Regions from separate parts of the Homo sapiens genome. Here regions 1, 2 and 4 are each linked to region 3. Evidence: promoter capture Hi-C in 16 types of primary human blood cells and fetal thymus (Javierre and others, 2016). All regions are on one chromosome and are shown on one strand. Each heading gives the region's core, a stretch centred on a gene start or on the middle of the fragment in contact. The rest is flanking DNA. Distances are from core to core; before and after follow the strand shown. Region 1 overlaps FBXW7 (F-box and WD repeat domain containing 7). Region 2 overlaps FBXW7 (F-box and WD repeat domain containing 7). Region 3 holds the start of PRSS48 (serine protease 48). Region 4 overlaps FBXW7 (F-box and WD repeat domain containing 7).

What was found. Contacts are between HindIII fragments. The CHiCAGO score rates a contact against its expected background, and 5 or more counts as called.
Region 1: a fragment that was not itself captured here is called in contact with the fragment with the promoter of PRSS48 in region 3 in 1 of 17 cell types (fetal thymus); the score reaches 9.3 in fetal thymus.
Region 2: a fragment that was not itself captured here is called in contact with the fragment with the promoter of PRSS48 in region 3 in 1 of 17 cell types (fetal thymus); the score reaches 7.0 in fetal thymus.
Region 4: a contact is called between a fragment that was not itself captured here and the fragment with the promoter of PRSS48 in region 3, in 1 of 17 cell types (fetal thymus). The highest score is 5.0, in fetal thymus.

What each region holds. Positions count from the first base shown.
Region 1 is chr4:152,390,226-152,392,925 of GRCh38, reverse strand. All of the region lies in intron 4 of FBXW7 (F-box and WD repeat domain containing 7), which reads left to right. Among named protein-coding and RNA genes, the nearest start is that of FBXW7-AS1, 54 kb to the right of the region's middle. The HindIII fragment of the contact is 2,255 bases long and covers 282-2,536 here.
Region 2 is chr4:152,371,912-152,374,611 of GRCh38, reverse strand. All of the region lies in intron 4 of FBXW7 (F-box and WD repeat domain containing 7), which reads left to right. Among named protein-coding and RNA genes, the nearest start is that of FBXW7-AS1, 36 kb to the right of the region's middle. The HindIII fragment of the contact is 1,843 bases long and covers 508-2,350 here.
Region 3 is chr4:151,275,853-151,278,552 of GRCh38, reverse strand. It overlaps PRSS48 (serine protease 48), which reads right to left and starts at 1,392. Exons shown (of 5, transcript NM_183375.5): 1 at 1,329-1,392. The coding sequence starts at 1,380. The region is part of intron 1 of SH3D19 (SH3 domain containing 19); the gene reads left to right. The HindIII fragment of the contact is 6,829 bases long and covers 1-2,700 here.
Region 4 is chr4:152,409,554-152,412,253 of GRCh38, reverse strand. It overlaps FBXW7 (F-box and WD repeat domain containing 7), which reads left to right. Exons shown (of 14, transcript NM_001349798.2): 4 at 382-951. The coding sequence starts at 451. Among named protein-coding and RNA genes, the nearest start is that of FBXW7-AS1, 73 kb to the right of the region's middle. The HindIII fragment of the contact is 8,756 bases long and covers 1-2,700 here.

The sequences.
Region 1 (2,700 bases), core at 160-2,659, 1.1 Mb before region 3:
TTCAAGCCAAAGTAACTCTTTAAAAAGTTTTATTATGAAAATAGAAACTTGCTAAGGCCTCATTTCCATTGAGTGTCAAGGTGGGAAATTGTCACCCAAAATTTTGCCATCCTCAAGATGATCACTTAACGTTTTCATTTTGAATCACCTGTTGTCCTTTCCATTCCTGTTACATTGTAAAATTAACACTCCACTAGGATGACTATAAACCAACTTAGAGCTCCTTGTTTTATAAGATGTCTCGGTTATCCATTGTCACCTGACCAATCACCGTCAAAGCTTTGTGGATTATAACAAACGAGAATTTTATTATTTCTCATTGTTCTTATAGGTTTGTAATTTGAGGAGGGCTGATCTGGCCATTGTTAACTCTGGGTGGCAGTCAGATCATGGCTGGAGGTGCAAAAGTGGGGGTCTAGAACAGCTGAGGGCTGACCCAGAAATTCTTTTTCCGTATCATCTCCTAACATCTCTATATAATACGGTCTTTTTACCTGGGCTAGTTTGGGCTTCTTCAGAGCATGGTGGCCTGAAGGTACTACTTAGCCAGCACATCAGGACTACCAAGTGAGTGTTCCAGCAAGCAAGGTGGAAGCTGAATCTCCTTTTTATGACTCAGCCTGTGAAGTCACATGATACCATTTTTACTATCTCTAATGGTCCAAACAGTCACAAAGGTCTGGCCTGTTATTAAGGCAAGAGGACATGGCCTCTCCCTCTTAGTGAAAGGAGTCTCAGAGTCACCTTGCAAGAAGAGCATGCAAGATGGGGGACAGCGTTGTGACTACCTTTGAGAATACAATTTGCTATAAGAGTTCATAATATCTTTGATGTTATTCCTGTTTCTTTTTTTAAATTTGGGCTTCATAAAAATCAGGCACATTAAAACATTCCATATTTAATATGTAAATGTCTTATACAATACTTTATTTCAGTTATCTAGAACTCATTTATATCTGACAAACTTACATATCTGAAACACTGACAAAGAAGTGTCTCCGAACAACTAATTTAGGAAGTAACACAACTAAGTTAGGATGTAACATTCTGTGGAATTGGATAGATGTTCTGTTACAAAGCACAGGTTTAGGAATTAGACATACCAGGGTTAAAATCTCAACTCTACTACCTGGCAGCTGTGTTACCTTGGGCAAATTTGTAAGCCTTTCTGAGCCTTAGTTTTGTCTGTAACAAGTAGACAAGGATAATGATACCTCAGGGTTTCGGCGTGGTGATTAAGTGATACAAAGCATGATCTAGTAGAAACTCTTGTCAGTGTTTAATCTCTTCCCCTTATCATTGTTCCAGTCTGAAACAATGCGTACGTATTTTCTAAGCCCTATAGCTGCAGACTTCCTTTATATCTCTTACTGATCTCTGATAGTCTCCTTAGACTTATTTATCTTTCTATCCCAAGATCTTTGTATTACAGGCATACTAAAGAATAGTAGGAATTGAATTTTATTTCTTTGTTTCTAATTTTTCTTGATAGCCAGTTAGTGTTTTACTTACTGTAAAGAATGAAAACTTAGGCTCTCAGCTTAATTTAAACCTCAGCTACAAAAAATAACATTGATATTTTTCAGAAAAATTATTTTTTTGAGTATGTAATATTGACAGCGTAAAAGGCCAGTGGTATCAACTGTCAGCCCGTCCAAGAATTAAGTTCTAAATATGTATTTTCTATTGCTTAATCTTATACTTGTTTTCTGTACTTTAATTCTATACTTAAATTCTGTGCTGAAGTACTTTCAGTTAATATTAATAAATCTCACATACTTGCATAGCACATTACTGAAAATTATATAAATGAAGTATGGTACTATGTTTATCTTTCTCAAAATATATTGATTTTTATTTATAATTGCATCAGAAACTCAACAGTATAGGAAATAATGTCCCCCTCCTATTTTACCTATTTAAAGCACCAGCACTCCTTCAGATTTTTTATGTTTCCATAAGTGTAGCTTTTTATTTTTCATAAGATAAATTTTTATAATTTGTCAAACTGTCAATTTGGTTGAGCCTTCTGCATTATAGCTTAATTTTTTAAAGCTGTGTAGCAAAAAAACACACAATTACTTACTGTATTTTAAAAGAATATTAGTATTATTTCCTTAGTCCTAATTATTAGTATAATTAGTATTATGACTCCCTGGCCTGCAATACTCTTAAGAATTTTTATAAGAGAAAGATATTATTGGTAAGTAATGTTTAATTTATTTTAACTGAAAGTTTAAACTGTTATGTTTAAACTGTTTATGGACTTAAGTACTGACATTAAAGAAGTTATTGTCTTTCTTAGACTTAAATTTTATTTTGAGAATTATGGAAAATTAGGTTACTTTAAATCACTTACTCTGTCATTACATGAGGCTTTTTGCATGACTGAAATACCTGTAATTACTGTGTCATTTTTGTCATAGTTGACTTAAAGGTGTAACTATAATAATCACGAACTAAATTCTTGGTGAGCAGCTGTGTAAGGCCATTTTAACAGCTGGGGTAACCCAGCTCAGCCTGTAAGAGTTAAGCTTAATCATGAGACAGGTTATGTTAAGTCATTGAAGACTTCATACTGGGCATTTCTGAAATACTTAGAAAATTCAGTGGGATAGTTGGATTTTTGTTTTATCTTAAGTACTTTTTAAAATGCTTAATGAAAGGATGAGGAAAAGTATTTTAACAACTAAAGTTCTT
Region 2 (2,700 bases), core at 180-2,679, 1.1 Mb before region 3:
CTTCCAGAGATATGCAGGAGAAAGTTAGTATAAATATTTCTATGGCTGATTCATTGAAGTGTCTGTTAAACTTGGAAAAATCCTTAAGGAATTTTTGTGCTGTAAGAATGTGGCTTGTTTTTGTTTACTAAATGTTTTTAAGTGACTGTGCAGCTGTGATTTTGAATATTTCATTTTCTAAATTTAACGAAACTCAGATACAGTTTGACACTTAATTTTAAAAGTAATTACTATGTACTAATTTTGAAAATGAAAAAGAAACACACATGGTATAGTCATTTAGGTGGTACTTTTGGGAGTCTAGAGTAGCTCCTAAATATCAGAAAATGCTGAAATAGAGAAAAAAAATACAGTACTTTGAAGAGAAGAAAGAATAGGGTGGTGGTATGAGCAAATTTAGAGAGGGAATTTAATAGGGTACCTGTTTTGTGGTGGGGTTTTTTTGGTTTGTTTTGTTTTTGTTTGTTTGTTTTTGAGTGAGGAAACTAAAATGTGGCTTTCTAAGCTTCTCTTACTTGCATATATCTTCCATTGGTACTTGGAAAATATAAACATTTCCAGATCCTTTGGTGTTTTTTATGGTCACTACTTACTTTATCAATAAAGGCATTAATTACTGTCAGTTATCACATATCAGACCATTCTATTTTAGATCCTTTGGTCTTTTTCTCTTTAAGAATGTTTCACACATCATGCATCAACATGAGTAAGCAATGTAATTGTCGGTTTTCTTTGCATTCTCTGTGCTGTGCAAGCCACCGGCTATAAATAAGATGATGATCCCCCATGCCCATGCACAAATGAAAAGTCACAGTGATAAAACTACAAACAAACCATTATAGTACAAAATAATAACTGCTTAAATGGACCTACGTACAAAGTACTGTCAGAGTATGAGGAGGCACTCAGAGCTCAATATGAGTGGTTCAGGAAGGGCTTCACAGTAACCCTGAATTAAAACATGAAGATGTTTGCTAAGTAGGTGATCAGAGGAGTGATAGAGGGAACTTGTATCATTGCTTGGGATCGTGTCTTGTCTTATGTTTTTTCATATTAAGTATACTGCTGCAAATTACATCTTGCCGTCAATTTATTAATGTTGAAAAAATACGTATTGAGCACCTAGAGTAGAGAACTTTCCTAGAAACTGTAGATATAACAGTGAACTTGATAGACAAAGGCCATGCCCTCATGGAGCTTAGATTGTAGTTTGGGGAGACAGAAAATAAATACTACTGTTAATATTTTGATGACAGTAAAATAGGGTAATAGAATAAGGTATGATTTGGGATGTAGAAGAGGCACTACTCTAGTTACTTTCTATACATAAACTCATTTAATCCTTAAAATCACCTTGTGAAGTACGTTGTATTGTATTTTACCTGTTTTACACGTGAGGAATCTCAGGCATAGGAAGGTTCTTGCCCCTTAGCTAGTAAGTAATGTAGCTAGGACACTAACTCAAGCAGTCTTATTCCAGCATCACAGCCACTGCAGGAAACGGATCTGGAGTAGGCATTTGTTGAACAGACCCTTAGTGTCCAAATGTTTTAAGGGTTAACTTTTGCCATATAATCTTGGAATTTTAAATGTGTAATTCTCACCTTTCCCAACAATTTATGATGGTCTCAATATCTAATTACTGATAATACTGCCTTCTGTATGTTTTTGTCATCAGATGATGTTTTAGTATTGGGTTGTGCCCTAGTTGTCAGATAGGAGTACAAAGCGACTTAGCACATGATTTATAAATCTGTAACTACACTATGGAAACAACTTGTATGATTTTGTCTTTTATGTAACAAATTTTTAATTAGGTAACAATTTGTATAATTTTGACATCAAAGGGCAAGGCTATTTAAATTTGTAAATATAAACTAAGTTAGGTTTTACAGAAACTAACTTAATGTTGAGGCTTGTAATATAGAAGACAGATGAAAAATATGCTAAAAATAAACTTGGAACTAAGCTCCTGGCAAGGTAAACAAGTGTGAAATAAGTCCACAGTCCCTTGTCTGCAAAGCAGAAATCCATCATGCTCTGAAAACTGAAAATTTAAAAATAAAGGTAGCAAAACCTAACCCAAACTAACATAAAACAGTCATCTTTATTATTTATCTGAATATTCATATATTTTGCTGGAGAAACACTAATGTGTGATATACTGGAAGTGCTCTGTAATAAATAGTATATGCACTCTGTTACCTTTCTACAATTCAAAATATTCTGAATTTAGGAACACAGCTGTCTCCAAGAGCATGGAACTAAATCCAGAGACCTTAGAGTTTTACAACTGTCACCCACTCATAAAAAACTGAACACACTTTGAAATGTCAGAGTAGTCTAAGCTTTATCTTAAGTCTCTGAGTACATGCATATTAAATACTTTAAAACATACATATATAGATGAGTACCTAAAGTTTATTAACCTAATTATAGGCTATTATAACCATATAATACAATGATAGTTTGGAGCTTTTATATTACTTTTCTTCAGTGATTAAAATACAGCTCATGCTAATAGACTTATTCTTTAAATGAGTGTAGAGAACCTCAACCACATTTTTTTTAATTGTCCCAGTATTTCCATGGGAAATTAACACCACAAAATTAATTTTAATCTGCTGATATATAGTATGCATACTCTCTGTGTGTGTTGCTACTGTTACAAAGATGAATAAGACAGCACACCTTTCCCTT
Region 3 (2,700 bases), core at 143-2,642:
CAGAAGTAGAAAAAGGAATGTTGGAGACAGGTGCTATATTAGAGACTTTTCTTACTTTTCACAAATCACTTCCTAAATACTAGTCAGGGTTTTTTTTTTCTTCTTTTGGGCCACAAACACAACAGGTGTGGTTCAACCACACCTGTAGTCCCAGCTACTAGGGAGGCTGAGTGGGAGGATTGCTTGAACCCAGGAGTCTGAGGTTGCAGTGGGCTATGATTGCACCACTGCACTCTAACCTGGGTGACAGAGTGAGACTCTGTCTCTTAAAAAAAAAATGCTCTATGAAGATTCAAATTTAGCTTTTACTTGATTCAAGGTCACCATCAGGAATATGAAGTATGTTAGTTTATAAATACAATGATGCCCTCAGATGCGGTTGAGGTTGCAAGCTGTTTACTTTTGTGCTATTTGGTTTAACTGAATTGGCATTTTGCAGTATTTGTGTATCTTTCTTCTTTGCTACCTGTTAAGTTTTTTGCTCTCTCAGCATACCCTTTCTGTTTTTTGGGGGGACGGGGTCTTACTCTGTCGCTAAGGCTGGAGTGCAGTGGCGCTATCTCGGCTTACTGCAACCTCCACTTTCCAGGCTCAAGCACTTCTCCTGCCTCAGTCTATTGAGTAGCTGGGACTACAGGTGCCCGCCACCACGCCCGGCTAATTTTTGTATTTTTTGTAGAGATGGGGTTTCACCATGTTGCCCAGGCTGGTCTTGAACTCCTGATCTCAGGTGATCTGCCCGCCTTGGCATCCCAAAGTGCTGGGATTACAGGCGTGAGCTGCTGTGCCTGGCCAGTATACCCTTCCTTTAAATCCCTGTGGACCAGAAAAATAAATGAACAAGCATATACCTGAAATCATAGAATAGTGTTTGCTCTTCCAGTTCCCTCTGCTTGAGATGCTCTTTTCCTGGATCCTCTTACTTAATTTAGTTATCCCCTTCAGTTCTGCTCAAATGACTCCTTCTTAGTGAGGCCTTCTTTAACTACCCTTCTAAAGATTGCAACACTCCTGCCCCTGTACTTCAGATGCCCCTTTCCTTTCATAGTACTTATTACCTTCTAACAAGCCTTATAATTTACACATTTAATATGTGCATTGATTATAAGTCCCACGAAGATAGGGATCTTGTGGGTGTGTGTGTGTACTGCTATTTCCAATCGGGAGCATTGGAATGGTGCTGGGTATATAGTAGCCTCTCAGGACCTTCTCAGGCTGTGCTACTCATAACTAACATCCCATGGGTGAAGTGTCACATTGTTCTATGTGATGCCCTCTTTAGTAAAAATCCTCTGCCTCTGCCTTCTCAACCCCACCCTGGCGCTCACCTGAGATCCCCAGCAGAAGGAGCAGCGTGAAGGCACAGCCAGCAGGGCCCATGTCTCTGTCCTCAGAGCCAGTGAGCGCTTCCTGCTTCCTGGACTCAGGCTCCCAGGAAGAGGCCAATGGGGAGCTGCCAGAACTAGCTTCTCCTAGATGGATTCCTCTGCTTCACCCCCTCCTCTCCTTTGGTCTTCACCCGCTGCCAGATCCTGAAGGGACCAGACTTCAGAAGTGCAGCTGCAGGACCCAGGGGAGGAACTGGGGTCTGTGGCGCCCCCTGCTGTCCTGGGAGAGCAGGGTTTCTGGGGTTTCTGCCTGTGGTGTTGAGGAGTGGCTGGTTGAGGGCACTGGAAGAAACAGGACCCTGTCTCTAGCAAGGAGATAGAAGGTGGACAGGATTCTCCAAAAGCAAGAAATGGAAAAGAGGAAATGAACCCAGTATCTGGTTAATTTTTCTGAGTTTTTTTGTTTGTTTGTTTTCATTTCTGTTACAGTGTTAGCTGCACTGCAAGTCAAGTTTCCTGGGAAACAGACTCTAAGACAGAGATTTGTGTGCAGGAAATTTATTTTAGAGTGGTCTCAGGATCAGCAGCTCTTGGGTGGGTAGTAGGATTGGTTAGAGGGAGAGTTGAACTGTGATGCGTTTGCAACAGAGGCCACAGCCTATCTCACAAGTTTCTCTGGAGCTGAGGTGGCCCTCAGAGACTTTCTGTACTGAGCTAAGAAGGATGCGTTCTTAGGGGTCTGCATCATTGGATGCAGGCCACCTCCTAGGAGGGGGCATTACCTTGGGTGAGGTGGCTCTGTTGGCAGTTCTTGGAATAAGACTTAGCTGTGAACTGTCAGCAGCCAACACTCCTAGCTGCTAAGGGAATGAATGCTTCAGTTCTAAAGGGGGGTCTGGATGGTACACCACAACATCTACCTCAGAAATCTTCACTCTGCCTTTTGTTTTCTGTGCCAATTGTTTGTAGGGTGCTAGGTCTGTGGAGGCAGAATTCAATGAACTATTAAAATGTTACTGCTCTCTTGCAACTTAAAATATTGGGATGCTTGAAAGAAACATATAAGCAGTTTAAAACTAATAGGCCAGGCACGGTGGCTCATGCCTGTAATCCCAGCACTTTGGGAGGCCGAGGCGGGTGGATCACCTGAGGTCAGGAGTTTGAGACCATCCTGGCCAACATGGTGAAATCCCGTCTCTACTAAAAATACAAAAATTAGCTGGGTGTAGTGGCGTGCACCTGTAGTCACAGCTACTCGGGAGGCTGAGGCAGGAGAATCGCTTGAACCCGGGAGGCGGAGGTTGCAGTGAGCCAAGATGGCGCCACTGCACTCCAGCCTGGGCGACAGAGCGAGACTCCGTCTAAAAAAAAA
Region 4 (2,700 bases), core at 5-2,504, 1.1 Mb before region 3:
TTTGATACACTTCTTAAAATTTTGTGGAAGTTTTATATAGGATATAGTCTATGAACTACTGATGTAAAATTAAAATTGTTTTATTTGCTTGAAATATTATGTTTTATTGGTCAAAGGAATTAAACTATAAATCTTCATGCTAAAAATTATTAAAAGGGATTAGTGTTGTTTACTATGGTTTTTGTGCATGTCTTTATAAAGTCTTATAACTTTTAAAATTGAAATGTTCTATATTGTTTACTAAAGAACATTTTAATGCCTTGGTGGCATCAATACTTTTTTGCAATCATTAATGATATTTAGAAAGTAGACATATAACATGAAAGTAGAACATAATATAGATTGTACAAATCTTGTTTTTTACCCTATTTTCCCCTGCAGAATGTGAAAACCTTTGCATCTTCTGATAGTCTAGCCAAGGTCCAAGAAGTAGCAAGCTGGCTTTTGGAAATGAATCAGGAACTGCTCTCTGTGGGCAGCAAAAGACGACGAACTGGAGGCTCTCTGAGAGGTAACCCTTCCTCAAGCCAGGTAGATGAAGAACAGATGAATCGTGTGGTAGAGGAGGAACAGCAACAGCAACTCAGACAACAAGAGGAGGAGCACACTGCAAGGAATGGTGAAGTTGTTGGAGTAGAACCTAGACCTGGAGGCCAAAATGATTCCCAGCAAGGACAGTTGGAAGAAAACAATAATAGATTTATTTCGGTAGATGAGGACTCCTCAGGAAACCAAGAAGAACAAGAGGAAGATGAAGAACATGCTGGTGAACAAGATGAGGAGGATGAGGAGGAGGAGGAGATGGACCAGGAGAGTGACGATTTTGATCAGTCTGATGATAGTAGCAGAGAAGATGAACATACACATACTAACAGTGTCACGAACTCCAGTAGTATTGTGGACCTGCCCGTTCACCAACTCTCCTCCCCATTCTATACAAAAACAACAAAAGTGAGTATATTCAATATATTGTTAACCTGAGAAACTTTACATATCTATTTTAATTGTAATGAAACTTTCCTCACAGTCTTTGTATTACTAAAAATTAATCTTAAGATGTGTAATAATAAAATGAACTAGTTTTTTGTCTTACAGAAGGTAATGGAAAGTATTACAAGTAGAAATACTGATAATGGGACAATCTGAGTACAAATGGAGGGAAAGTAATTGAGCCTATTACTATGAAAAATTATTAACATCAAATTTTCGTCTAAACCTTGCGTCCCGGGCAGGGATTAGTAGCTTGTGTGGGGTGTAGAGGTTTCGGGTGAAACATGATTTGTGTAAATCAAGTAATGAAGAAACTTTTTATTTACAAAATGCAGCTGCTAGAGTGGGCTATTCACAAGTGTCACTCTAAGGCATAAATTACTCAGAAGTTGCCTCAAATTAGTTCTAGTTATTTATCATTTGAGAATTAGAAATAATGAATATTCATGTAGAGTAGACTTACAAGTTAAACTATGTTTTGGAAAGGAACATTTTAACTTGAATATACTTGTTTTATAGACATTAACATAATGTCTGTGGTAGTTCATCCTCTTACTCCTACTTGCTTATTTCTTACATTTTACAGTGATTTTAGGCCATAAACAATATACAAACTGATTTAACATCGTATCGTTTAACCTAACTTGACTTGGAATGAAGTATCTTACACACTTGGATTAATAATAATTGAAATGCTAAATCATGTTTTACATCTGCTTGTAAAACCTTACTTTCTAAAATGTGTTTGGCCCTAATTTACCTAGCCTATCTGCAAGTCAGATTTTATTTAGCTGGCATGATCTAAGAAGGACGTGACATCAAGTAGTGATTTTTCATCCATTGTACCATCCCTGTCTCAAGATGTTGAAGCAGTAGCTTTGGATCTCAGCCAGATGGCTCTACCACTAACAACTATAGCACCACTTTGTTAAGGCTCAGACCTTTTATAGTGTCATTCCTCCCTTTTGCCCCCCTAGTCTTGATCATCTTCTTCAAGGTTGCTATATCAAAAGGGAGTTTTAACATCTCTTTTTTTCCTGAGGGTTCAGTTAGAGGAATAGGGGTTTAATACTTAAGGTCCAATTGCACTAACTTATTTCAGAAAGAGGTTCAATCAAAACTAAGCCTTGCGGAACAATGCAGAGTTATTGCTGATTTCTGCTACACTTTAAATTAAAAGCAAAAAAAGCTAGTTAGACAAAACATTATCTTTTTCCAAAAGGAAAAGTCATCCTTATATTCTGTAGGAAACCTTCCAGTTCACAAGTTTGACAGGTGCTTTATCTTTTCTTTACCTTCAAGATGTAAAATTTTGTGTATGATGATTACCTTTTTAAAAACGAAGTATACTGAATTTGTTAGTTTTTTTCTAGTGATTCTGAATCATGAATAACAATTATTGTCCTGTACATATAACAAGAATGGACTGGGCTCTAACCATAGAAGGAATACATGTGTGTATGCATTTATGTATATACACATGTACAGTATAGATGTGTGTATGCATTTATGTATATACACATGTACAGTATAGATGTGTGTATGCATTTATTATATAAGTGTGTATGTATAGTTTTTGATATATTGTTGATCATGAGATGATCTGCCTTCGTAAGTATGGCATGAAGAATACAAAGCTATTTGATTGCCAGGACAGTGATACCCTTCTACAAGTAAGATTTCAGTCTGAAATTTTTCTAAATGTTTTCC